Regions from separate parts of the Homo sapiens genome. Here regions 2, 3, 4, 5 and 6 are each linked to region 1. The links are contacts of gene promoters, found by promoter capture Hi-C in blood cells and fetal thymus (Javierre and others, 2016). All regions are on one chromosome and are shown on one strand. Each heading gives the region's core, a stretch centred on a gene start or on the middle of the fragment in contact. The rest is flanking DNA. Distances are from core to core; before and after follow the strand shown. Region 1 holds the start of CTPS2 (CTP synthase 2). Region 2 holds the start of LOC124905268 (small nucleolar RNA SNORA7). Region 3 overlaps CA5BP1-CA5B (CA5BP1-CA5B readthrough). Region 4 overlaps CA5B (carbonic anhydrase 5B). Region 5 holds the start of INE2 (inactivation escape 2). Region 6 overlaps ZRSR2 (zinc finger CCCH-type, RNA binding motif and serine/arginine rich 2).

Region 1 (3,866 bases), core at 567-3,066:
GTGATCCGCCCACCTCGGCCTCCCAAAGTGCTGGGATTACAGGCATGAGCCACCATGCCCGGCCCTCTACTTCTTTTAAGCACACAAGTAAGTTTAACAAAGTTTCAAAGGTTCAGGGAAAGGCTGGCCCTGTTTTAGATCACTTCCTCCATTGAGGATTGTTTCTGGTGTCAAGACAAGTTTTTCATTTACTCTTACATGCAGTGAGCAGAACCAAGTGTTTATAGGATAGCACAGTGTAGAGCTGTGCTGTCTCCACTACCTAATAAAAAATATTACACAGCCAGGTACGTAATTTTAAGTTTCTAGTAGCCATATTAAAAAAGTAAAAAGAATCAAATGAAGTTCATGTTAATATATGTTATTTAACCCAATGTAGCCAAAAATGTTATCACTTTTAACGCACAATGTAAGAATGTATTAGTGAGATATTTGACATCTTTTTTGTGTACTAAGCTTTCAGAAATCAGGTGCCTGTACTCAGAGCACATCTCAGTACGGATTTTGCCACATTTCCAGTATTCAATAACCACATGTGACCAGTGGCTCCCACATTAGACCAGGCAGGCCTAGAGCAAATAAAAGCACCGGAAGCACCCAGAGACACCTTCTCAGTGATGGCCATTTAAAAAGTAATGTTAGACACAAAAGAGTACTTACCTGATGATCTTGTTCTATGAAGTTCTAGAACAGTCAAAGCTAAGCTATGATAACAATCAGAACCGGGGTTGAGTGCGGGGCCTGGGGTGGATTGACAGAAAGGAGGTACCAGGGAACTTTGCAGGGTGAAGGAAATGGTCAATGTTCACTTTGGGATAATGGTTACAGGAGTGTATAATTTGTCAAATCCCGTCGATTTGCACACTGAAAATGGGACATTTTGTTGTATATAAACCATACATACAATTCTTTTTTATGTTGCCCCCAAAAAAGCTATTCTGTAGCAGCAGCGTAGTTCGGCACTATGCGCCCTAACCATCTAGTACGGGGAAAACGCGGGGGTCGTTGTTTAAGGGGTGCACTGGGACCGGGGAGAGGACAGAAAGGCCATGTTACCGGCGCTGATCACCAGCCTCGCAGACCCCCGCTCGGGGCTTCACTTCCGCCAACGCCATCTCAGGGCTCTCCTGGCTCCCGAGGGCCGGGAGAAGTGGGGATCCGGGTGCGGGCGCTGGCGCGGGCGGAGGCGGGAAGAAGCGCGTCCCGGGGACGCGCGGGACAGGCTCCAACCGCACTGGGCACGGGCCAGCGTTCCCCAGTCCCCGCGCCACACCCGGCAGCCGAGGTCTGCGAGCGCGGGGCTGGCGGCCGGACCCGACTCAGCGCTGGGCAGGGAGCCGGCGCCATCAGAGAGCGGACAAAGGAGCCCGGCCCCACAAGTGCACCGGGGCTGGGGGTGCAGGGCGGAGAGGCCCTGGGGACGAGGGATGGCCCGGGCGCCGAGGCCCTGGGGGTCTGGGACAGGCCCAGAAGGGAAGTTACCTGCGCGGTGGTGGTAGCACCGGGGAGGGTGGCCGGTGGGCACGGCGGGCTCCACCCCGCGGCTGGCCTGGCGCTCACCTGTCGGGCTGGGGAAGGGGTCGCTGCCGGGGCTGTCCAAAGCCGCCCCCGGGATCTTCCCACCGCCCACACGGGCCTCGGGGTGCGCGGCGCCCTCCTCGCCCACCTTCCCCTCTCCTCCCTGCTGCTGGCCCAGCTCACTCACGCTGGTGAGCTTGGGGTTTGCACCCGGGTTTGTGCAATGGTCCAAAACAAGCGCCTAAAAAGTGATTCCTCCAGCACAGGCAGCTCCCGTCACCCTCCGCTCTGGACGCACTGGGCCCCAGGCCTCGCCCAGCCCGGGGACCGCTCCTCCCTCCCGTGGCTCACTTTGCAAAGGCACTTCGAGTGCGCGGGTGAACTCCACGCTTCCCGGGGAACCCCGGCTTCCTGGCAAGCCGAGACCCTCGCTCGGGTCCTCCCGTGCAGATCTCACCCTTGTAAAGAACTTCACTGGTCACAAACGCTTGTGGATCCCCTACTACGCCCCAGGAACTGCAGGAGCGCTCAGGAGAGAAGGAAAAGGAAAGAGAATGCCTGCCTTTGAGGAGCTAGCTCACAGTCTGGTGGGAGGTCCACCCGTCTGTTGGAACCAGTAAGGTTCCCTAGAACAATACTTCTGCAGCAAAGAGTTGCGGGGGTGCAGTGAGGGGAGGAAGGCAATTAAGGCTTCCAAGAGTGACTTTTTTTTTTTTTTTTTTTTTGAGACGGAGTTTCGTTCGCCCTTTTTGCCCAGGCTGGAGTGCAATGGCGCGATCTGGGCTCACTGCAACCTCCGCCTCCCGGGTTCAAGCGATTGTCCCTGCCTCAGCCCCCGGAGTAGCTGGGATTACAGGCGGATGCCAAAAAGCTCGGCTAATTTTGCATTTTTAACAGAAACGGGGTTACATCACGTTGGCCAGGCTGGTCTCGAACTCCCGACCTCAGCTGATCCTCCTGCCTTGCCTCCCAAAATGCTGGGATTACAGGCTTGAGCCACTGCACCCCGCCCAAATACTCTAAAAAGTCACTCTTCGGGTGACTCACGCCTGTAATCCCAGCACTTTGGGAGGCCAAGGCAGGCGGATCACCTGAGGTCGGGAGTTCGAGACCAGCCTGGCCAACGTGGTGTAACCCTGTCTCTACTAAAAATGCAAAATTAGCCAGGTGTGGTGGCACCTGCCTGTAATCCCACCTACTCCGAAGGCTGAGGCAGAGAGAATCGCTTGAACCTGGGAGGCAGAGGTTGCAGTGAGCCGAGATCAGGCCACTGCACTCCAGCCTGGGTGACAGAGGAGACTTTGTCTCAAAAAAAAAAAAAAAAAAGAGTATTGGAGGATGATTGGTGCTGGGAACGGATACAGGAGGTTTTTCGGGTGAAGGCAAGAAGCCAACCACTGAAGGAAGCTAACATGGACAACAGAAGGGTCTGAAGTGAGATGGAAGGTTTTAGGAAAGTGGTGGAAATTTCGCATAACCAGTGTGAGATGCTAGAGCGACAAGTTAGACAAGAGTCACTGAAGACCTAGTGGAGTTTAGAAACCATCATCGTGTAGTGGTGTCCAGCTATAATCTGCTATAATCTGGCAAGGTATCTACAGAAATATAGCTCTTAGTTATGAAACCCAAGTTTCCTGCTTGCATAGAATAGAAGGACAAGAGGGTGAGGAGGTGGAGGGCACAGAAAGACTGCGATTGCAGTGATGGGCCAGAGCTCTAGTCCTAGAGGACAGGAACTGTTAATAAAACCAGCGGGGAGCTGATGGACTGGGAGACAGATGAGAGAAGGGCTCCAAGGCCAGGGCCTCTGAGGAGAGGACTGGCAAACTGGCAGCAGAGAGTGTGGTGCTGGAGTTCAGGCCTTCAAATGGATATTCCAGGAAATGAGACAGTTTGGGGTGTGGCAGCTACAATGGAATAGAAAAGTGAGATGGGCATCACTGGCCTTGGGTTTAGTGCCCACAAGGCTGGTATGTTGGACATCGAGGGTCCCAAAAGGATGGCAGGAGGTGGAGGAGTCAATCGAGGTCAAGGAACTTTAGAGAATTGGGGTTGCGGGGTGGGTAGTGAGCCTGAAACTAATAGATGACTGTGACAAGGAAAGGGAGAAGGTTGCAGAACAAATGTCAGTGCCTTTCAAGACACAATGGAGGCCTGGCGCCATGGCACACCCCTGTAATCCCAGCACTTTGAGAGGCTGAGGCAGGCAGATAGTTTGAGTCCAGGAGTTGGTGACTTACCTGGACAACATGGCAAAATCCTGTCTCTACAAAAAATACAAAAATTATCACGTGTGCTGGCATGCATCCCAGGGGAGGCTGAAGCAGGAAGGTCGCCTGAGCCCAGGA
Region 2 (3,866 bases), core at 344-2,843, 1.0 Mb before region 1:
CAACAAAGAAAATTTGAAGCCACCACTGTCTGTGAGGGTAGGCTTTCTCATTGACTACTGAAAACTAGAAGGAATGTTTCATATATCATTAATGGCTATTTTGCTCATAGGATGGAATTTTTTTTTTTTTTTTGAGACAGGGTTTTTCTATGTCACCCAGGCTGGAGTGCAGTGATATGATCATAGGTCACTGCTGCCTTGAACTCCTGGACTCAAGTGATTCTTCCTACTCAGCCTCCCAAGTAGGTGGGACAACAGGTACACACCACCGTGCCCAATTAATTTTTTAAAAATGTTTTGTAGAGACGGGGTCTCACTTTGTACTCAGACTGGTATTGAATTCTTGGTTTCAAGTTATCCTTCCACCTCAGCCTCCCAAAGTGTTAGGATTACAGGTGTGAGCCACTGTGCCCAGCCAGGATGGATTTCAAACTAATTTACATTGCAGTGAAACAACTCCCTTGGGCATGAAGGAAGAACTGGCTTTAGATGTTCCCTTGTACTATCTGTAATATAACTTCAGATAGGAAAAGAATAACTTGCTGAAATACAAATAAAATCCAAATCCTCATTTCGGTGAAGAATTTTAGGATTCTCTTTCCTCAAAGTTATTTTCATAAATATAAGGAAAAATAAATTTGAGTTTCACTATCCCCTTGGTGCCTTTCCCTGCTTAAGTAGCAGAAGCACACAAAGACCTCTAATCTACAAACTTGAAAATCAAGAAAGACTATTGTTGATTAAGAGTTGGTACATGCTGTAAAGATAGGGAAGGCTTATTAACACAATGTAGAGATGATGAATGAGCCTGTTCAAGTGTAGATAACAATGATAAGCTCAGAGCAGCAGATAAAAATGAAGATCCTACCTCCCAGGATGGCATCTGGAAGTGGATAGTATTCTGCCAGCTTTGGAAACTGGATGAAAAGCAAATCTGGCAGAGGTACCCATTTCATTCCCAGCTTGCTCAGTAGCTGGTGATTGGAAGAAACTCTGCAACAGTGTTCAATCCCTGGACAGGAAACCCTCCTTCCATGATTCTTCTTTAACATGGGTCTGAGAAAAAGAGAAATACAGTATTTTTTAAAATGAAGATGCTAGCCAACTCTCACCAGAACACATACTTAAATTGTTTTTCAGATCTTGAGGATGATTTAACCTGATCTGTCCTTTCATTGATTCCTCTTAAAACCAAGAGCTTGAGCTGGCTGGGTAGGGGTCCAGTTTTGGTCACAAAAGAAAGCCCCAAGCTATTTAGATCAGAACAGGATTGATGTAGTTCTAGATTGGGTTGGGTATCCTGCCAGTGGAACCAACTTATCCTGGGCAAGTGTGAACAGATTGAAAGCTTGTTCATTGAAATACATAGCATACTTCTCCTAGGGCATTCAAAACATTTCAAAGAAAGAGCCTCCATGCATAAGTGAAATTGAGCATATATACTAATGAGAAGGTGTACAACTCACAAGAGGATAAGGAAAGAGATAATAGCTCTCAACATATGTATACTCTGTGACCCAAATTTCTATTCCTAAGTAAATACCCAAGAAAAAGCATACAGAAAAAACACGTACAAGAAGGTCCATAGCAGTTTAGCCACCTGTTGTGCATGTATCTGACACATAATAGGTGCTCAATAAATGTATATAATTGAACATATCTTTATATCCCACATATGGTTTCACAGGCCAAGTGACACATACTAGTTGTGTCATCAGTTCATACTTCTAGCATGTACTATAAATACTTTAATAAAAACCATTTTATTAACAATTTCCATTTTAGTCTATTATTGCTTTAATAAAACATTGGAATGAGGTCTTTAGGAATGATTTACTCAAGCTTAAGATAACTATGCAGAAGGGCCCAGCAATAAAGAAAGTGTTATTAGAAAGCAATTTTTTCAAAATGAACACTCAGGTACTTCACTTACCGTTTTAGTTGCCAGAGCTGCTCTGTCTCACTCTAAAAGCATTTTCTTGCAAAGGGGTTGGTTTTGATCAACCCAAAAATCTGGCAGCTGTGAAAATCAAAGTTAATGCTATAGAACAGCGTTGTCCAATGGGACATTCTGTGATGATGGGAATGTTCTGTGTCTGTATATGGCAGCCACTACACATAGATGGCTATTGAGCACTCGAAAGAGTGGTAATAATGACAAAATGTGTCAAACAGAGCCCAGTGATTCCTAATATTTTATGCAACTGGAATGAACAAAAAACAGATCTACAACTGAATGGCTCCAAATTATTTACTGAAAGTTTACCCTCTGTCATTTTAGGTGGTTTAATATTTTCTGTTGAAACTCATAAAACAGTCACAGGCTCAAATTTCAAGCCTCAACACATCTGCAAATTTAGAGAAATAACAAGTCCTTTAAATCAAAGATGCACTCAACAGAAAACTGGTTTGTTTTTGTTTATTTTTTTTATTTTTGCTTGGAACAGAGCTGGATGCAAAATTAGGTTGTTTATTGCTGTTTTTTAATATTATTTTTATTGCTGTTTTGACAGTGGTTATTGTCCAGCCTTTTCTCTTACTGGCCCATGTTAATGTATTTTTAAGTTTCAAGGCTAACTACCTGGTTGACAGAGTTCCACCTGAATAGCAATTTCTGGCCAGGCACGGTGACTCATGCCTGTAATCCCAACACTTTGGGAGGTGGATCACTTGAGGTCAGGAGTTCGAGACCAGCCTGCCCAACATGGTGAAACCCTGTCTCCACTAAAAACACAAAAATTAGCCGGGCGTGGTGGCGGGCGCCTGTAATCCCAGCTACTTGGGAGTTTGAGGCTGGAGAATTGCTTGAACACGATCTCATCACTGCACTCCAGCCTGGGCCACAGAGTGAAACTTCATCTCGAAAGAAAGAGAGAGAGAGAGAGAGGGAGGGAGGGAGGGAGGGAGGGAGGGAAGAATAGCAGTTACCAGGAAAAGAGGTCACAACATCCTTTTGGAATAGAAAACAAAAGGCAAACAAAAAAGGAAGAAAAACCCACTCTGCACTTAAAGCTGCCTGAGCCATTCTGTGACCCAGATTAAAATATCAGAAAAAGAACAAAGCCACCACCTAAAAGGTTTAATGATTAACACCCATCATTTGGGTTAATATTTTCATAGAAGTCACCTGTCTCCTGTCAGTTATTTATGGAAATCTACAGATTCGTTGTTTTTTTCCAGACTCTACCTCAAAAGAATGTTTCCTCTGCTGACTCAAAGTTGGAATCCTTCCCTCACCCCTTCTGCGAGTCTCTGGTTACGTGTATGATGGGAAGAATTGAGTCCTATCTAGAGGTTTTTTGGCATGCACCTTCCACCTTTTCGGGGCTAGGATACCTGGTTCATAGACAGACTATCTTCATTCAGGAAACAAACGTGACTCCTTTCTCTCTGGTAAACAAAGGGTGCCCTTCCATGAAGGGCCTCACCTGACTCACCACAGCGGGTGAACATCCCAGGAGAGCTTCAGAGCTTCCTCTTACCTACTTGAGGGTAGAGGGTGGGAGGAGGGAGAGGATCGAAAAACTACCTATCGAATACTGTACTTATTGTCTGGGTGACAAAATAATCTGTACACCAGACTCCCGTGACACACAATTTACCTATATAACACACTTGCACATGTACCCCTGAACCTAAAATAAAAGTTAAAAAAGAACGCTGAAGTTGCAACAAAACCTCAGAGATGCTCTGAGAATTAAGATAATGAGTGTAAAAGAATCTTTCCCCGTGGGCATTCCACAGATGCCAATCGACGCCCCGCCCAGAGGTTGATGTCAGGGCTTTCCTCTCTACCATGCTGCCTCTTCATAAATTCAGTCCCCAAATTCTACCCCATTCCTCGAAAATCATGAATGGCAGAATTA
Region 3 (3,866 bases), core at 425-2,924, 980 kb before region 1:
GGGTATTTGCTGATGCCCCAGGTACTGTGTTAACTGCCAGGAGTACAAAGTTGGGCAAATTGGTCAGAGTCCCTGCTCTTAGGGAATTTACATTATAGTAAACAACCAACCAACAAATAATCAAATAATTTCAAATACTGAGAAACACTATGAAGAAAATAAAATAGGTAATAGAGATGGAGAGGTGAAGCTGTTACTCAAAGTGTCTTTTTGTTTTGTTTTGTTTTGTTTTGTTTTGAGACGAAGTCTCGCTCTCACCCAGGCTGGAGTGCAATGGCGTGATCTCGGCTCACTGCAACCTCCGCCTCCTGGGTTCAAGTGATTCTCCTGCCTCATCTTCCTGAGTAGCTGAGATTACAGGTGCCCACCACCGCGCCTAGCTAATTTTTGTATTTTTAGTAGAGACAGTGTTTCGCCATGTTGGCCAGGCCAGTCTCGAACTCCTGACCTCAGGTGATCTGCCTGCCTCGGTCTCCCAAAGTGCTGGGATTATAGGCATGAGCCACCGTGCCAGCCTCAGAGTGTCTTATAGAACCTCAGGATTGCATCTCCTGGCAGCATGCTTGAAATCTAGAATCTCAAGTCACATCGCGGAACCACTGCATCAGAGTCTGCATTGTAACATGATCTTCGGGTGATCTCTGGGCACAGTGCAGATTGAGAGGCTCTGGATACAACTTCAGATATGGTTGTCAGGAAAAACATATCTAAAGAGGTGACATTTTAGCTAAGTACTGAATAATGAGAAAACTCCAGCCATGTAAAGATCCGAGTAAAGAGTGGTCCAAACAATGGGAACAACAAAAGAAAATGTTCAGAGACAGGAATGAACATGGGAAGACCAGTATAGGTGGATCAGAGTGAGAAAGGGACCTGGAACTCTCTACACTCTGGTATTTATCAAAAACCCTGTGGTGAGAAATTATTTATTTATTTATTTATTTTTGAGACGGAGTTTCGCTGTTGTTGCCCAGCCGGGAGTGCAATGGTGCAATCTCGGCTCACTGCAACCTCTGCCTCCCAGGTTCAAGCAATTCTCCTGCCTCAGCCTCCCTAGTAGCTGGGATTACAGGCATGTGCCACCATGCCTGGATAATCTTCTATTTTTCGTAGAGATGGGGTTTCTCCAGGTTGGTCAGGCTGGTCTCAAACTCCTGACCTCAGGTGATCTGCCCGCCTCAGCCTCCCAAAGTGCTGGGATTACAGGCATGAGCTGCTGCGCCTGGCCACGAGAATTGTTGATTTTGAGTGACTGCACAAAGTTCTGCATGCAAGACCTCTATTTCTACAAAGCAGAGGTACCAGGTAGGTTATTGCATGCAGCCACTTACCTATCCTGCACCCACAGCATTGTTAACTGAGTACAGAACTTTTTCTTTCTGAGCCTGGACAAAGCCCCCAAACTTCTCAACATAGTTATTCAGGCAGCTACTACAAATAGTTCAGAGTTAACATGTGAGTTGAAACCTATTTGCCATCCTGGGGAAAGATGATCTAAATGCTACCCTGGATTAAGCCAGACCATTGAGGGCTTGTGTATTCAAGTGAACAGAAATATGTTGATGGTTCATGGAATTTTTTTTTTTTTTGATACAGGGTCTCAGTCTGTTGCCCAGGCTGTAATGCCGTGGTGTGATCACGGCTCACTGCAGCCTCAGCCTCCCTAGGCTCAGATGATCCTCTCACTTCAGCCTCCCAAGTAGCTGGGACTACAAGCATACATCACCACACTCAGCTAATTTTGTAGAGATGGGGCTTCACCATGTTGTCCAGGCCGGTCTCTAACTCGTGGGCTCATGCAATCCTCCTGCCTCAGCCTCCCAAACTACTGGGATTACAGGCCTGAGCCACTATGCCTGGCCAATTCATAGAATTGATTTAATGCACTGTGCTTTGTGATTGTGCCAACAGTTTCCATTGAGGGGATTTGGGTGTCACTCCTTATGACACATAGTTCCCACTAGGCTCACTACATCATCTTTATGAGGAAACTGTATTTCTCTCAGGACTAAAATTCAAGAAAAACTGCTTCTATAAAAACAAAACAGCCGGGCACGGTGGCTCCCGCCTGTAATCCCAGCACTTTGGGAGGCTGAGGCAAGTGGATCACCTGAGGCCAGGAGTTCGAGACCAGCCTGGCCAGCATGGTGAAACCCCGTCTCTACTAAAAATACAAAAATTAGCTGGGCATGGTGGCGGGCGCCTGTAATCCCAGCTATTTGGGAGGCTGAGGCAGGAGAATCACTTGAACCCGGGAGGCAGAGGTTGCAGTGAGCCGAGATCATGCCATTGCACTCCAGCCTGGGCAACAAGAGTGAAATTCCATTAAAAAAAAAAAAAAAAAAAAAAAGGCCGGGTGCAGTGGCTCACACCTGTAATCCCAGCACTTTGGGAGGCCGAGGCGGGTGGATCACCTGAGGTCGGGAGTTCAAGACCAGCCTGACCAACATGGAGAAACCCCATCTCTACTAAAAATACAAAATTAGCCGGGCATGATGGTGCATGCCTGTAATTCCAGCTACTCAGGAGGCTGAGGCAGGAGAATCGCTTGAACCTGAGGGCCGAAGGTTGCAGTGAGCTGAGATCGCGCCATTGCACTCCAGCCTGGGCAACAAGTGCAAAACTCTGTCTCAAAAAAAAAAAAAAAAAAAAGGGAAAAGAAAAAAAGCCAGTTTTTATCTTATGAACAGTAAAAACCTAAAAATGATTGCTATTTCCTCTTTTCTATGGCTATTCAACAGCTTAGTTAGGGTCAAATTTCTGGCCTACTTCTGACAACTGTTCTGGATCTGATGGAGTGCAAACTTAAATGTTAATCTTATCATTGGCCACATCATTCTCCTTCCATTAAGCTCTCCTTTCACTGGTTCCTTCCCCTATTTTTAAATCTACTAATGTCTATATTTTAGGACGCTGCCTCAAATCATTTGTGGAAGAAGGTGAAGTAGAACTACTTGTATAAAAATAAACTCAGTAATTTATATAGACTGTATTTGGACCAATTTCTGTGAATTCATTTTTCAGGCAAAAAATGACTGACAGTTGAAACATTTTATAAATGAGGCAGAGTTCTCAGGGTCAGGGCGAGCATAATGAAAGTGTTCTGTTGAAAGTTGTTCTTTTCTCTGTGTTCCTTCTAGCCCAACATTTTGAATATTCTCACTGTCTTCAAGCCAGAAATGCAAGGGAGGAGAAGAAAAAAGAACTGTGTGATAGTAAAATCTTTATTGTTGGCATATGAAGCAATATAAGTAGCAAATTTTACTTCTACAAAGGGGGGAAATTATATATTTCTATACATGTGGAAGAGTAGATATTCAGTGAAGATTTTTTGATAATTTATTGTGTAAAGAAATGTACTAAATACTATAAAAGTGGCTTCCTATGTTTACTACCCCCAAATATTCCTACTAATGACCTGAGATTACCAACTCCTTTTCCACCTATTAACCTTTTGCCACATCTTCCCCAATTTTCTCATCCAAACCCAAGTTGGGGCAACTTCAGACTGTAAGCTTCTTGAGGCTTGTCTTGTTTGTCAGGGGAGCATGTACTCAATAAATGAAATTTGCATGAATGAGTCAGAGATTTATGTACACAGGGGAAGAAAGCTGGTTATAGCTTCTTCATATTTTTCACGTGGACCCAGAGTTGTAAATTGAGGGAAGAAGGATAGCAGAGTAATCTCAAAGCACAAAGTGGGGGTGATGTCTTCACACGCCCTCAGCAGCAACGGGGCACTGGGTGCTTAGGAAAGCCCATCTGAAGGAGACATCAGGAAGTAGAGGAATTCTGTTTTTTCCACTCATCTGCCTAGTATTTAAGGTCGGCTAAGAGGCTAGAAGGAACACATCCACAGTTCTGCT
Region 4 (3,866 bases), core at 714-3,213, 960 kb before region 1:
TAGTCAGCCTGGAGGGAGCTTTAATGTTGGGGTTCTTCGTACATGTAAATACCATGCTGGATAATTAATTGGGATTTCCTGGAGCAATTTTTTTTTTTTTAAGAAACTGTACTGTAAACAGTTTTTCATTCTTGTGGATAAAGAGAAGCTTTTCTCTGGATTTCTAATATTCGCCAACCCTGAGGGAAAGGCAAAGCATGTGAGTCAGTCCTCAGGACCCTCCCTGCCCTCCACTGAGGGGACCAATGAGTTTGAGGAACAAGAGTGGATAAACCGTTGACTCTCATCTGCCCTCCCTCCCTCCACCTCAGGGTGTGTACTGCTAGTCTGAATATTGTCCTGCTTAGAGGTTTCTCCATCATCTTAAGTTTCTGTTGTTTACAGCTTTCCCTCCTCTGCCCTCATCCCTCTAGATTATTAAGTTCCTGCAACTTAACTGGGAACTGATCAAGATTTCAAGCTAAAGATGGTGGTGATGAACAGCCTGAGGGTCATTCTTCAAGCCTCTCCAGGCAAATTGCTGTGGAGAAAGTTCCAGATTCCGAGATTCATGCCAGCGAGGCCCTGCAGCCTCTATACTTGTACTTACAAAACCCGGAACCGAGCCTGTGAGTACACCACTTCCTTAAAGAGAACAAAAAGGGCTCCAGCCTGAGTGACAGAGTGAAATCTCATCTCTTAGAAAAAAAGAGAAAAGAAAAGAGGGAGCAAGTGTGCAAGAGCAAAAATACTCATCTTTATAATAATCACACATGTTAAACATTTGTAGCTATGCTGTCTTTGGCTTTCCAGTGTAGGATTATATGCCTTATGAACTGTGAGAATAACTGTTTCTCTGTTGATTCATGAAAGTAAATGTAGAATGTTCTTTCTTGACTAATTTTAGCATGTTAAAATGATGTCATGCAGAAACTGGACAAGAGACAGATCCCGGTTTTTAATATTTTGGAACCTGTTGTTTATTATTTCTTGGTAGCAATTGTCTTTTTTTTTTTCTTTTAAACAAAGGTTGATCCACAAACCACAAATTATTTCTGGGAACCTTAAGTTTCTGGAAGTTGCATGTAAATGTTTGTAAACAGTTTACTAGCTTCAACGTTCTGGAATATTCTGTCCTGAGTTAGGAATTACTGAATTAATTCTAGCTGATCAGTTTGCAAGTGTGTGCTCTGCTGTAAGGATGGAAGATTGAGTGAGGCAGGAAATGGTCTTCCTCACACCTCTCTCATCTCGTTCCCCTCCTGGAAATACAAGGCATTGCCCATGTCCGGATGTGGCAGGGATTCTCCACTGCGGCATGATGGACATTGAGGATGGATCATTGTGTGTTGTAGGGGGTTGTCCTGTGCCCTGGAGGGTCTTTAGCAGCATTCCTGGCCTCTGCCTACTAGTTGCTAGTAGCACCCTCATGAAGCTATAACAACCAAAACTGTCTGCAGACATTGCCAAACATGCTCTGCGTGACTGCCCTAGAGAGGGCAGTTGAGAGAATGGGAAAGGATAATGTGTGTATTTGTGAACAGATAACTTTGAGTTAATGAAGAGATGAAATGGCTAAGTATTATCATTAAGGAGGAATTTTTCATGTTTTCCATTATTTAAAAAACATTGGCACAGAGTTTTCAAATGTTGGACTGCACTGAGGTCTAGGTTTCTCCCCTTTAGTGTTTATTTTCTTTGACCCCATATGCACATAATAAAAAGACTGAGTAAGAATGGAATGCTTGTAAATTAGTAATGCTAATCTAGCTACATCCAAGGGCTTGAAACTGCTCTACAAATATATTTTCACTGTAAGTTTATTTTGTTTCCTTCAACATTGACTGTGTTCTTTTTCAAATAAACGGACCAGAGGCATAATAAATTTCTGGTTGCTAGGTGTGGTTTCCTACAAACATGCCACATCCTACTGAGACTGGCTTATTCTGAACACTGGCACTTTGTGGTCTATGGTTTATATTGGAAAGTATTAATAGTTTTGCTTTTTTTTTTTTTGACAGTTGAAATTAAACATCCAAATCCGGTATACGTATGTAGTTAGGATAGTTTGCTGCTTTTAGTGCTGACAAAAAAAAACAAACAGTAGTGGCTTCGGGAGGGGCAGTTTTACTTAGTGAATTTCCCACAACAGATGACATGTTCTTGTTTCTAAGTTACTAGGAAAAACAGGGGACAGTCACCATTTGATTTTGTTTGTAGCATATTATACTGTTCCAACCTGTTTGCCCCAAGAATAATATTGTGGTCTTTGCTGCTCTGGGCCTTCGAGCCGGTCCTGTTTCTATGTTCTGGACCCTCGTCTGCTCAATTGTAAAGACAATTCTCATTGTTTCTGACAGCTCAATACCCCAACAGAAGGCCAATGTACACTTGTGACCAAGAATGACCCCAGATTCTTGAGGGTTTGAAAAGATAACGTGTTAATGAAAAAAGCCAAATTCTAAAATATTTGAAGAGGTTCATTCTGAGCCAAATATGAGTGACTGTGGCCCATGATACAGCCTCAAGAGGTCCTGAGAACACATGCCCAAGGTGGTTGGGTTACAGCATGGTTTAGGGAGACAGAAGTTACACGCAAGACATAAATCAATACATGTAAGGTATACATTGTGAGGACGAAACTCTGATTTTTTTTTTATCTTGCCCAAATTCCTATCTAAGGGGTCTGGGGAGTCATGCCCCACAAATCATAAATTCTCACCAGATGGGTTTTATTCAACCCTATATATCGTGATTTACTTTCCAAGCTGACTTTGGCATAACATTACAAGACAAAGAAGAAAATCAAAATATTTTACCCCAAAACATGTTTCTTTGCCATGTTTTGAAATAGCCCTGCAAAGCTGTTCTGCATGGGGGAAAATTTGTATCTGTAAAGAATCTCTGGGCCAGGCGCGATGGCTTACGCCTGTAATCTCAGCACTTTGCGAGGCCGAGGCGGGCGGATCACAAGGTCAGGAGATCAAGACTATCCTGGCTAACACGGTGAAACCCCGTCTCTACTAAAAATACAGAAAATTAGCCAGGCGTGGTGGTGGGCGCCTGCAGTCCCAGCTACTAAGGATGCTGAGGCATGAGAATGGCGTGAACCCGGGAGGCGGAGCTTGCAGTGAGCCGAGATCGCGCCACTGCACTCCAGCCTGGGCGACAGAGCGAGACTCTGTCTCAAAAAAAAAAAAAATCTCTGTTAACATAGCTAGATCTTTTTTTTCCAGACCCTCCCAATCCTAAAGAGATTAACTAAGATCTGAATAGGAAATATTTCTCATCTATTGTCTCTAAGGGCAGCTACTATAAGACTTCAAAGGAACTTTGATCTCCACAATCTTTATCTTAACCTGAACATTCCCTTTCTACCAATCCCAGGTCTTTAGACAAACTCAACCAATTGTCAACCAGAAAATGTTTAAATTTACCTATAGCGTAGAAGCCCCCCCAACCCCCACCCCAGCTTTGAGCTGTCCCGCCTTTCTGGACCAAACCAATGCATTTCTTAAATGTATTTGATTGATGTCTCGTGCCTCTCTAAAATGTATAAAAACAAGCTGTACCCTGAGCACCATGAGCACATGTTCTCAGGTCCTCCTGTGGGCTGTGTCACAGGCCACAGTCACCCATATTTGGCTCAGAATAAATCTCTTCAAATATTTTACAGAGTTCGACTCTTTTCGACAACACTTGGTTTGGCCTAGAAAGGTAGGACATCTCTAAGCAGGGGCTTACAGGTCATAAGTAAGTGGATTCAAAGATTTTCTGTTTGGCAGTTGGTTGAAAAAGTTAAGCTTTGCCTAAAGAGTTGAAGTCAACTGAAAGAAATGCTTGAGTTAAGATAAGGGGGATTGTAGAAGCCAAGGTTCTTGTTATGT
Region 5 (3,866 bases), core at 359-2,858, 930 kb before region 1:
ATATTTGTACACCCATGTTCATAGCAGCATTATTCACAATAGCCAAGAGGTTCTGGAAGCATCCCAAATGTCCATCAACAGATGAATAGATAAAGGAAATGTGGTATATACAGTCAATGGAATATTATTCAGCCTTTAAAAAGAAGGAAATCCTGTCAAATGTACAATGTGGATGAACCTTGAAGGCATTATGCCAAGTGAAATAAGCCAGCCAACAAAAGAACAAATGCTATATGATTCCTCCATGTGAAGTATGCAAAGTAGTCAAAATCATACAATAGAAAGTAGAAAGGTGGTTGCCAAGCAACGGTTGGGGGAAGGGGAGAGGGTGAATTTGTATTTAGTGGGTACAGAGCTTGTGTTGCAAGAATTCTAGAGATCTGTTGCAAAACAAGTGTGATTGTACTTAACACTACTGAACTGTATACGTATAAGTTTGAGAAATATCTCTTTTAAAAAGGGGGAAATGTGAAGGCTTTTGCATGTATGCCCTAGGAAATGCATAGAATTCTTAGAAAGGTAAACATGGTAAAAAAAGAAGTCTTTGTTAACTTTCTGCAGTTCACCTGTTTCAAAGTATAGTTACCTTTAAAAGGGTAAACACACAAGATATGCATTTTCCAAAGCATACAGGCTTTCCTCCTAGCTGTCTTGTTTTTTATTTTTTTTTATTTTTTTTATTTTTTTGAGACAGAGTCGCGCTGTCACCCGGGCTGGAGTGCAGTGGCGCGATCTCGGCTCACTGCAAGCTCCGCCTCCCGGGTTCACGCCATTCTCCTGCCTCAGCCTCCTGAGTAGCTGGGACTACAGGCGCCCGCCACCACACCCGGCTATTTTTTGTATTTTAAGTAGAGACAGGGTTTCACCGTGTTAACCAGGATGGTCTCGATCTGACCTCGTGATCCACCCGTCTTGGCCTCCCAAAGTGCTGGGATTACAGGTGTGAGCCACTGTGCCTGGCCTTCCTAGCTGTCTTGTGAAACGATAAGTCAAAACCCTACTGCAGTGAGTTTTCCAAACTGAAGGGAGAAGCAATGTACAGAATGCCTGACTTGCCCTTACATCTTATACCTGGTGTTCTGGCATGATTATTAACCACACTCTTTTTCACTTTGAACCATGTCCTGGTTTGCATGGCCAGCTTCCCTGCAGAGGTGATAGAAACTGACTTGAGGCAGTTTCTTTCTCCATGCCTTAGTTAGATGACCCTCAAAGGGGCACAGCAGATTTCCCTGGCTACTGATACACCTTAACAAGAAGCTTGTGTTTTTTATGCCCTCAAAAGTGTTTTACTTATACTTTCCTAGACATAAAGGTGGAAAATGGGCCTAAGGTCTGTCAAAGGTCTTGGAAAAGAAGATTGTATTAAAATTGCTGTCCGTCTTCATTAAATAATACTAGATCGATACAATGCTTTCTTTACAGTATTAGTGGTTGGTGAAAGACTTCCTTCCTATTGTTACAGTATATGTATATATCTGTAAAATTAATGAGATATCCTTTAACTTGTAGATTAGAAAGCGACTAAAAACTCATAGGGGATTTACTAAAGAAGCAACAATGGGAAGAAGCAGCCGATCCTCCTCAGTGCACCTTTTTCTGTTGCACAGTACAGTGCACAGTGTGCTGGCATCACCATATAGGGCAAGCTGTGACCGCCTTTCTCCTTTCCCAGGGCTACATGGTGCCAAGCAGGTTCAGTGTACACTGGTTACCAACCTGTCTGATTCCATTGTGACAGAACACACTCACACCCAATACATTACATGAAGCAGATTTATTACTTACAGACAGGAAGCAAGGGACAAAAGAGGCCCTGGCTCCATTGTGAGCCAGTCCCCCAGGGCTCAAGAAAGCTGCCCAGGGCGGGGCTGATGGAGTCTTGATTGTACGTGCCCCACTTGCACCACAGCCTGCCTTGGGTTATATACCATAGGAGCCACATAACTCATTGGGCAAAGCTTTAAAGTACATCCTCCTTCCAGGGGAAAGAGGAACACAACCTCGCTGTCTCAAACAGTTCCCTAAATCAAGATGTTACATTCCCTAGGAGGGACAACAACAAGGCCAACCTGTTTCAGGCAGTTCCTCCATATCAGGATATTGCATTCCCAGTGCATTCTACAGTTATTCTTAAGAACTACAAGCAAGGAAGAAGGGAGAACTGGGTCAGTCCAAGGCCACCTGGAGAACTGTCTTGTACATGGGTTAGGGTAAAGTTGGCTATTCTAAAACTAAGCATCCGCCCAAAAGAAGTCTTGGAAGATGTCTTTCCCTGTTAAATTCAGATGATGGTAATTATAGTTTGGAAGTGGAATTGGCTTTTAGAGTTACTTCCTGTAATGAAATTAACAAGCAATTCAGGCCTATTTCTGAAAATGAATTCAGTGGTTAATTGTTAAAAATAAATGTCTAACTCCTATAAAAGGAAATTTACATTCATTTCTAACTCACTAAAAAATCTATGGCCGGGTGCGGTGGCTCATGCCTGTAATCCCAGCATTTTGGGAGGCCGAGGCGGGCAGATTACCGGAGGTCAAGAGTTCGAGAACAGCCTGGCCAATATGGTGAAACCCCGTCTCTACTAAAAAATACAAAAATTAGCCAGGTGGTTGTGGCATGCACCTGTAATCCCAGCTACGCAGGAGGCTGAGGCAGAAGAATCGCTTGAGCCCAGGAGGCGGAGGTTGCAGTGAGCCGAGATTTCTTAGAAGGAATTGTTACTTATTGTTCTGAAGTGAAAGTCTGGTCTGATTCAGAAGAAATGTTACAACAACTTAAACACTGATGCTTTCAGAACGGGCAGCAATTCTCAGCGTAAATTCTGATCACAGGGACCAGCAAAATTGGTGAGTTGCATAGCTACAACATTCTGTGCCATCCAGGGCACTCTAGTTTGGGGATACAACTGCCAAACCTCCAACTAGAGAGTTTAGTTTAAGATTTAGTCAAGAAGCAGAAAGGTAAAGGTGACAATGTGTAGTAAACCATGATAGATGTTATAAAAGGTGGAATACTTGTACTGGAAATGCATACAGCGCCTCATCCCCTCTTGAGGGGTCAGGAAGTTTTCACACTAATGATGATGGTGATGAGATGATGTAACAGCTAAAGTTTTGGAGGCATTCACTATTGCTAGGCACTGTATCAGCATATAACATGGCTTATCTTACTCAGTTTTCACAATAAAAGGGTTATGAGATGGGAACTATTATTACTATCTTGATTTTTACAAATGAGAAAACAGGAGTAGACATTAAGGAATTTACTCAAGATCACAGCCAACCAATGCACTGAGCTGGACAAGGTCAACTTGGGGGTGAAGGGCATATGTGTTGCTCCAAGTGTGTCAGTATAAGAGAGATTAGGGTGAGGTTTTATGCAGAGTTTGGGCTTCAGCTGAGTAATTCTAAGGAGGGATTAGGGGAAGGAAGGCAGTTTAGTAATTGAGTATCTCAGAAACTTTAATTTGGAGGAGAACGGAACAAAGGTAGGCCAAGGAAGCTATTCAATCACTCAAAAGATAGAGGTTATTAGTCATTTTACAGCTGTAATGCATCCTTGTGAGGAACATTTTTTGCTTGGCCTTGTCCCTGGCCTTGTATGTGTACATTACAGTCTGATTATTAGTTGGGATGATTTTTAGTTTCTCAATCCCTACTCTCATTGCCCCAGTTTAATTCCTCAACACCTCTCACCTAGATTATTGTGATACTCTAGTTTTATCTTTTAAATCCTTTATATTGCAAAGCAGAGTGATTTACCTAAAACACAAACACAACCACAATAAGCCTCTATTTAAAAAGCTTTCAACGGTTCACTGTTGTCTCTACAGAATGTAAACAGAGCGTCTTAACATGGCACAC
Region 6 (3,866 bases), core at 737-3,236, 900 kb before region 1:
GAGAGGGGGCAGTGGAGGAGGTTGCTGAGGGAGAGGGGGCAGTGGAGGAGGTTGCTGAGGGAGAGGGGGCAGTGGAGGAGGTTGCTGAGGGAGAAGGGGCAGTGGAGGGTAAGCAGAGTCAGATCATGTAGGGCTTCCTGGATTTGAAGGAGGAGTTTGGATTTTATGTTTCCTATAATGGGAAGCCATTGAAGGGGTTTAAGCAGGGAATGACTCTGTCTCATTTATATCTGTACCTTTTAACAGATCATTCATTTAAAAAAAAAATTTTTTTGAGATGGAGTCTCATGCTGTCGCCCAGGCTGGAGTGCAGTGGCGTGATCTCTGCTTACTGCAACCTCTGCCTCCTGGGTTCAAGCAATTCATATGCCTCAGCCCCCCGAGTAGCTGGGATTACAGGTGCCTGCTACCACGCCCAGCTAATTTTTGTATTTTTAGTAGAGACAGGGTTTCACCATGTTGGCCAGGCTGGTCTCGAGCTCCTGACCTCCAGGGATCCACCCGCCTCGGCCTCCCAAAGTGCTCGTGTGAACCACTGCACCAGACTTTTTTAACAGATCATTTTTACTTTACTGAAACCTCTGCCTCCCGGGTTCAAGCGATTCTTCTGCCTCAGCCTCCTGAGTAGCTGGGACTACAGGCGCCCATCACCACACCCGGCTAATTTTTTGTGTTTTTAGTACAGACAGGGTTTCACCATGTTGACCAGAGGACAAGGAGAGAGAGAGGAATTCAAGTCATATTTTTAGGTTTTTAGTTTGAATAGACAGATAGACTGGCAACACTATTCACTGAGGGAGCATTCAGGTGGATGTGGGCCAGGGAGTGTAGAGGACAAGAGTTCTGTTTTGAGCACCACAAATAAGCAACTAGACATACGAGTCTTATGTAATGCTTTAAGGGGCTAGGGAAGATAAGACTGTCTGTTAAACATAGGTACAACTTGTTCAAATGCCAATTAGGTAGAAATTTACTGGCATATTGCAGAACCTCCTTTGCCTTATTAAAAAGTTAGAATTTTCTCCTAAATGCTAATTACCACTGGTCATGTCATATTTTAGCTTCTGCTAAATGTTTATGATTTCATCTAGCATTGTTTTTTGGGTTTTTTCGTTTGTTTGTTTGTTCGTTTTTTTTTAGACAGAGTCTTGCTCTGTCGCCTAGGCTGGAGTGCAGTGGCGTCATCTCGGCTCACTGCAACCTCTGCCTCCTGGGTTCAAGCGATTCTCCTGTCTCAGCCTCCCAAGTAGCTGGGATTACAGGCACGTGCCACCACACCTGGCTAATTTTTGTATTTTTAGTAGTGACGGGGTTTCACCGTCTTGGCCAGGCTGGTCTAGAACTCCTGACCTCAAGTGATCCACCCGCCTCAGCCTCCCAAAGTGCTAGGATTATAGGTGTGAGCCACCATGCCCGGCCTAGCATTGTGTTTTATATTCACTAATACCCCCTTTTACGAACTAGGACATGGTATATATACTCAAATATACTAAGTATTACTATTATTGAAACTATTATAAGACTATTTTAAATATTTTGCAATGTGATCTGGTAAATTTTCTATTTGAATAGAACGTCTCAGCTATGGGCCGGGCACGGTAGCTCATGCCTGTAATCCCAGCACTTTGGGAGGCTGAGGCGGGTGGATTGCTTGAGCTCAGGAGTTCGAGACTAGCCTGGGCAACATGGTGAAACTCCGTCTCTACAGAAAATACAAAAGTTATCCAGGCGTGGTGGTGTGCGCCTGTAGTCCTAGCTACTCGGAAGGCTGAGGTGGGAGGATCACTTGAGCCTGGGAGGCGGAGGTTGCAGTGAGCTGAGGTCACGCCACTGCACTCCAGCCTGGGTGACAGAGTGAGACCCTGTCTCAAAAAAAAAAGAGAAAAGTCTCAGCTATATATCCTTTGAAAGCTTTTCAAAAGATCTGTGATTCAAAAGAAAACTAGAACTTGTGTGCGTGTGTGTGTTTTAATTGTTCCACTTGAGATTCTTAACCAGAGAAACCAGATGTGACTTACCTGACTTCTGGGTTTTTATTAGTCCTGTGTTTGCACCATTTTAGGAAGCTTTGCAGAAGATGCTGGATCAGGCTGAAAATGAGGTATTTTTAAAACCTTACATTGATAATTTGAGACCAATTAATGTTTCCTTAGAAATAATAGTTCCAGTAATGTTAGTTTCGTGGTAGGTTAGTTAGATCATGTTTGGATATCTGGACTCATGTTTATGATGCTTTGATTTATACAACAACAACAAACTTTATTGATGAACAAATACAAATGGTATTCATGACCCCTGTGGACTGGACCTGTTTAGAGTCCTTACAGTATGTTTAAGCAACATCACATACCGTTAGCCTCCAGTGGACGGTTTACCTTGAATCAGAGTAACTTCTATTTCTGTCTGTGGTGGTTCCCTAATAAGTTCTTGGACCCTTTTTTTTCTCTTTTTTTCTTTTTTTTTTTTTTGAGACGGAGTTTTGCTCTTGTTGCCCAGGCTGGAGTACAGTGGTATGATCTCGGCTCACTGCAACCTCCGCCTCCCGGGTTCAAGCAACTCTCCTGCCCCAGCCTCCCAAGTAGCTGGGATTATAGGTGTGCACCACCACGCCCAGCTAATTTTATATTTTTAGTAGAGATGGGGTTTCTCCATGTTGGTCAGGCTGGTCTTGAACTCCTGATCTCAGGTGATCCACCCACCTCGGCCTCCCAAAGTGCTGGGATTACAGGCGTGAGCCACTGCACCCGGCCTTCTTGGACCCTTTTTAGAATGGATGGAAACCTTGGCGACTGCCCCTGGTGGCAGTAGTGATACCAGATAAAGGAAAGTGACCAGGAGCCAAGAGAGACATGGAGCTCATGTCTCAGTACCGTTGTTTGTAAAGTCTTGATTGCCTGTTCCAACTTAAATGTTTGCATTATTAAATGAAACAATGTTTATCTTTGAGGAAAATATTTTAATATACTTTGAAACATTTCGTCTTTCATGGGTTTTTACTCCACCAGTAAAGTCATGGTTATTTTCAACAGTTGGAAAATGGTACCACATGGCAAAACCCAGAACCACCCGTGGATTTCAGAGTAATGGAGAAGGATCGAGCTAATTGTCCCTTCTACAGTAAAACAGGAGCTTGCAGATTTGGAGATAGGTAACTAATTTTGTTTTATCATGTCAGAATGAAGTGATTCAAAATGCTGACGTTTTTGAGTTCCCCTTTTGGGAGAGGCGCATGTTTCCATTTCAAATGTCCGTCATCAGACATCTGCTGCCTTCTTGCTGCTGCTCTCGTTTTCCCAGCTGATCATCCTCTGCTTTGACCATCCCTGTTCCCTCTATCCTTGTTCCCTGGGTGGGCTTAGCCTAGTTCTCTGAGGGTGCTTCCTTTGCATTCTGCATCTTTAGGAAGCCACTTTGCTTGTTGGTTTCTTCCTGAGCTTGCATTAGTCCATGGTGGACAACTGGGTTGGGGAAATAATATATTTGAAGAGCTTAGAGCAGCTTGGCTTTATTTTTTGAAGGGCACACACTGTCCCCAAAACAGGCTTTTAAAACTTGGCATGTGCCAGGAGTTCCAGGCTGCAGTAAGCTATGACCACACCACTGCACTCCAGCCTGGGTGACAAAACAAGACCCTGTCTCAAAAAAGAAAAAAAAAAACAAAACTTGGCATGTGTAAAGGGATATCTGTGAAAGACAGGATCCAAATGAGGAGAGGAAAAGTGTTTTAATTTCTGTTGTCAGTGAGTGTGCCCAGACTCAGGTACAGACCGTTGGGTTCAAAACGGGCTTCAGTGGCTGCCAGTTTGGGAAAGTTGCTTAAGCTCTGTGTGCCTTCGTTCTCTCATCTATGAAATGGGATTAAACAT

The links. Contacts are between HindIII fragments. The CHiCAGO score rates a contact against its expected background, and 5 or more counts as called.
Region 2: a contact is called between a fragment that was not itself captured here and the fragment with the promoter of CTPS2 in region 1, in 1 of 17 cell types (naive CD8 T cells). The highest score is 5.4, in naive CD8 T cells.
Region 3: a fragment that was not itself captured here is called in contact with the fragment with the promoter of CTPS2 in region 1 in 2 of 17 cell types (non-activated CD4 T cells and total CD8 T cells); the score reaches 5.7 in non-activated CD4 T cells.
Region 4: a contact is called between a fragment that was not itself captured here and the fragment with the promoter of CTPS2 in region 1, in 1 of 17 cell types (fetal thymus). The highest score is 6.2, in fetal thymus.
Region 5: a fragment that was not itself captured here is called in contact with the fragment with the promoter of CTPS2 in region 1 in 1 of 17 cell types (naive CD8 T cells); the score reaches 8.1 in naive CD8 T cells.
Region 6: a fragment that was not itself captured here is called in contact with the fragment with the promoter of CTPS2 in region 1 in 1 of 17 cell types (naive CD4 T cells); the score reaches 6.1 in naive CD4 T cells.

What each region holds. Positions count from the first base shown.
Region 1 is chrX:16,710,853-16,714,718 of GRCh38, forward strand. CTPS2 (CTP synthase 2) reads right to left here and starts at 1,817. Exons shown (of 19, transcript NM_175859.3): 1 at 1,483-1,817. RefSeq lists silencers at 1,270-1,539, 1,600-1,689. The HindIII fragment of the contact is 10,682 bases long and covers 455-3,866 here.
Region 2 is chrX:15,715,343-15,719,208 of GRCh38, forward strand. All of the region lies in intron 3 of CA5BP1-CA5B (CA5BP1-CA5B readthrough), which reads left to right. It overlaps LOC124905268 (small nucleolar RNA SNORA7), which reads left to right and starts at 866; the gene lies at 866-1,004. The HindIII fragment of the contact is 494 bases long and covers 1,347-1,840 here.
Region 3 is chrX:15,733,805-15,737,670 of GRCh38, forward strand. All of the region lies in intron 4 of CA5BP1-CA5B (CA5BP1-CA5B readthrough), which reads left to right. Among named protein-coding and RNA genes, the nearest start is that of CA5B, 2.5 kb to the right of the region's middle. The HindIII fragment of the contact is 3,678 bases long and covers 1-3,513 here.
Region 4 is chrX:15,749,558-15,753,423 of GRCh38, forward strand. CA5B (carbonic anhydrase 5B) reads left to right here. Exons shown (of 8, transcript NM_007220.4): 2 at 414-608. The coding sequence starts at 467. CA5BP1-CA5B (CA5BP1-CA5B readthrough) reads left to right here. Exons shown (of 12, transcript NR_160544.1): 5 at 414-608. Among named protein-coding and RNA genes, the nearest start is that of CA5B, 13 kb to the left of the region's middle. RefSeq lists an enhancer at 3,307-3,866. The HindIII fragment of the contact is 3,634 bases long and covers 147-3,780 here.
Region 5 is chrX:15,785,204-15,789,069 of GRCh38, forward strand. It overlaps CA5B (carbonic anhydrase 5B), which reads left to right. Exons shown (of 8, transcript NM_007220.4): 8 at 1-3,208. It overlaps CA5BP1-CA5B (CA5BP1-CA5B readthrough), which reads left to right. Exons shown (of 12, transcript NR_160544.1): 12 at 1-3,208. It overlaps INE2 (inactivation escape 2), which reads right to left and starts at 2,386. Exons shown (of 1, transcript NR_002725.2): 1 at 513-2,386. The HindIII fragment of the contact is 701 bases long and covers 1,259-1,959 here.
Region 6 is chrX:15,806,171-15,810,036 of GRCh38, forward strand. It overlaps ZRSR2 (zinc finger CCCH-type, RNA binding motif and serine/arginine rich 2), which reads left to right. Exons shown (of 11, transcript NM_005089.4): 6 at 2,063-2,101; 7 at 3,030-3,148. Among named protein-coding and RNA genes, the nearest start is that of ZRSR2, 18 kb to the left of the region's middle. The HindIII fragment of the contact is 155 bases long and covers 1,910-2,064 here.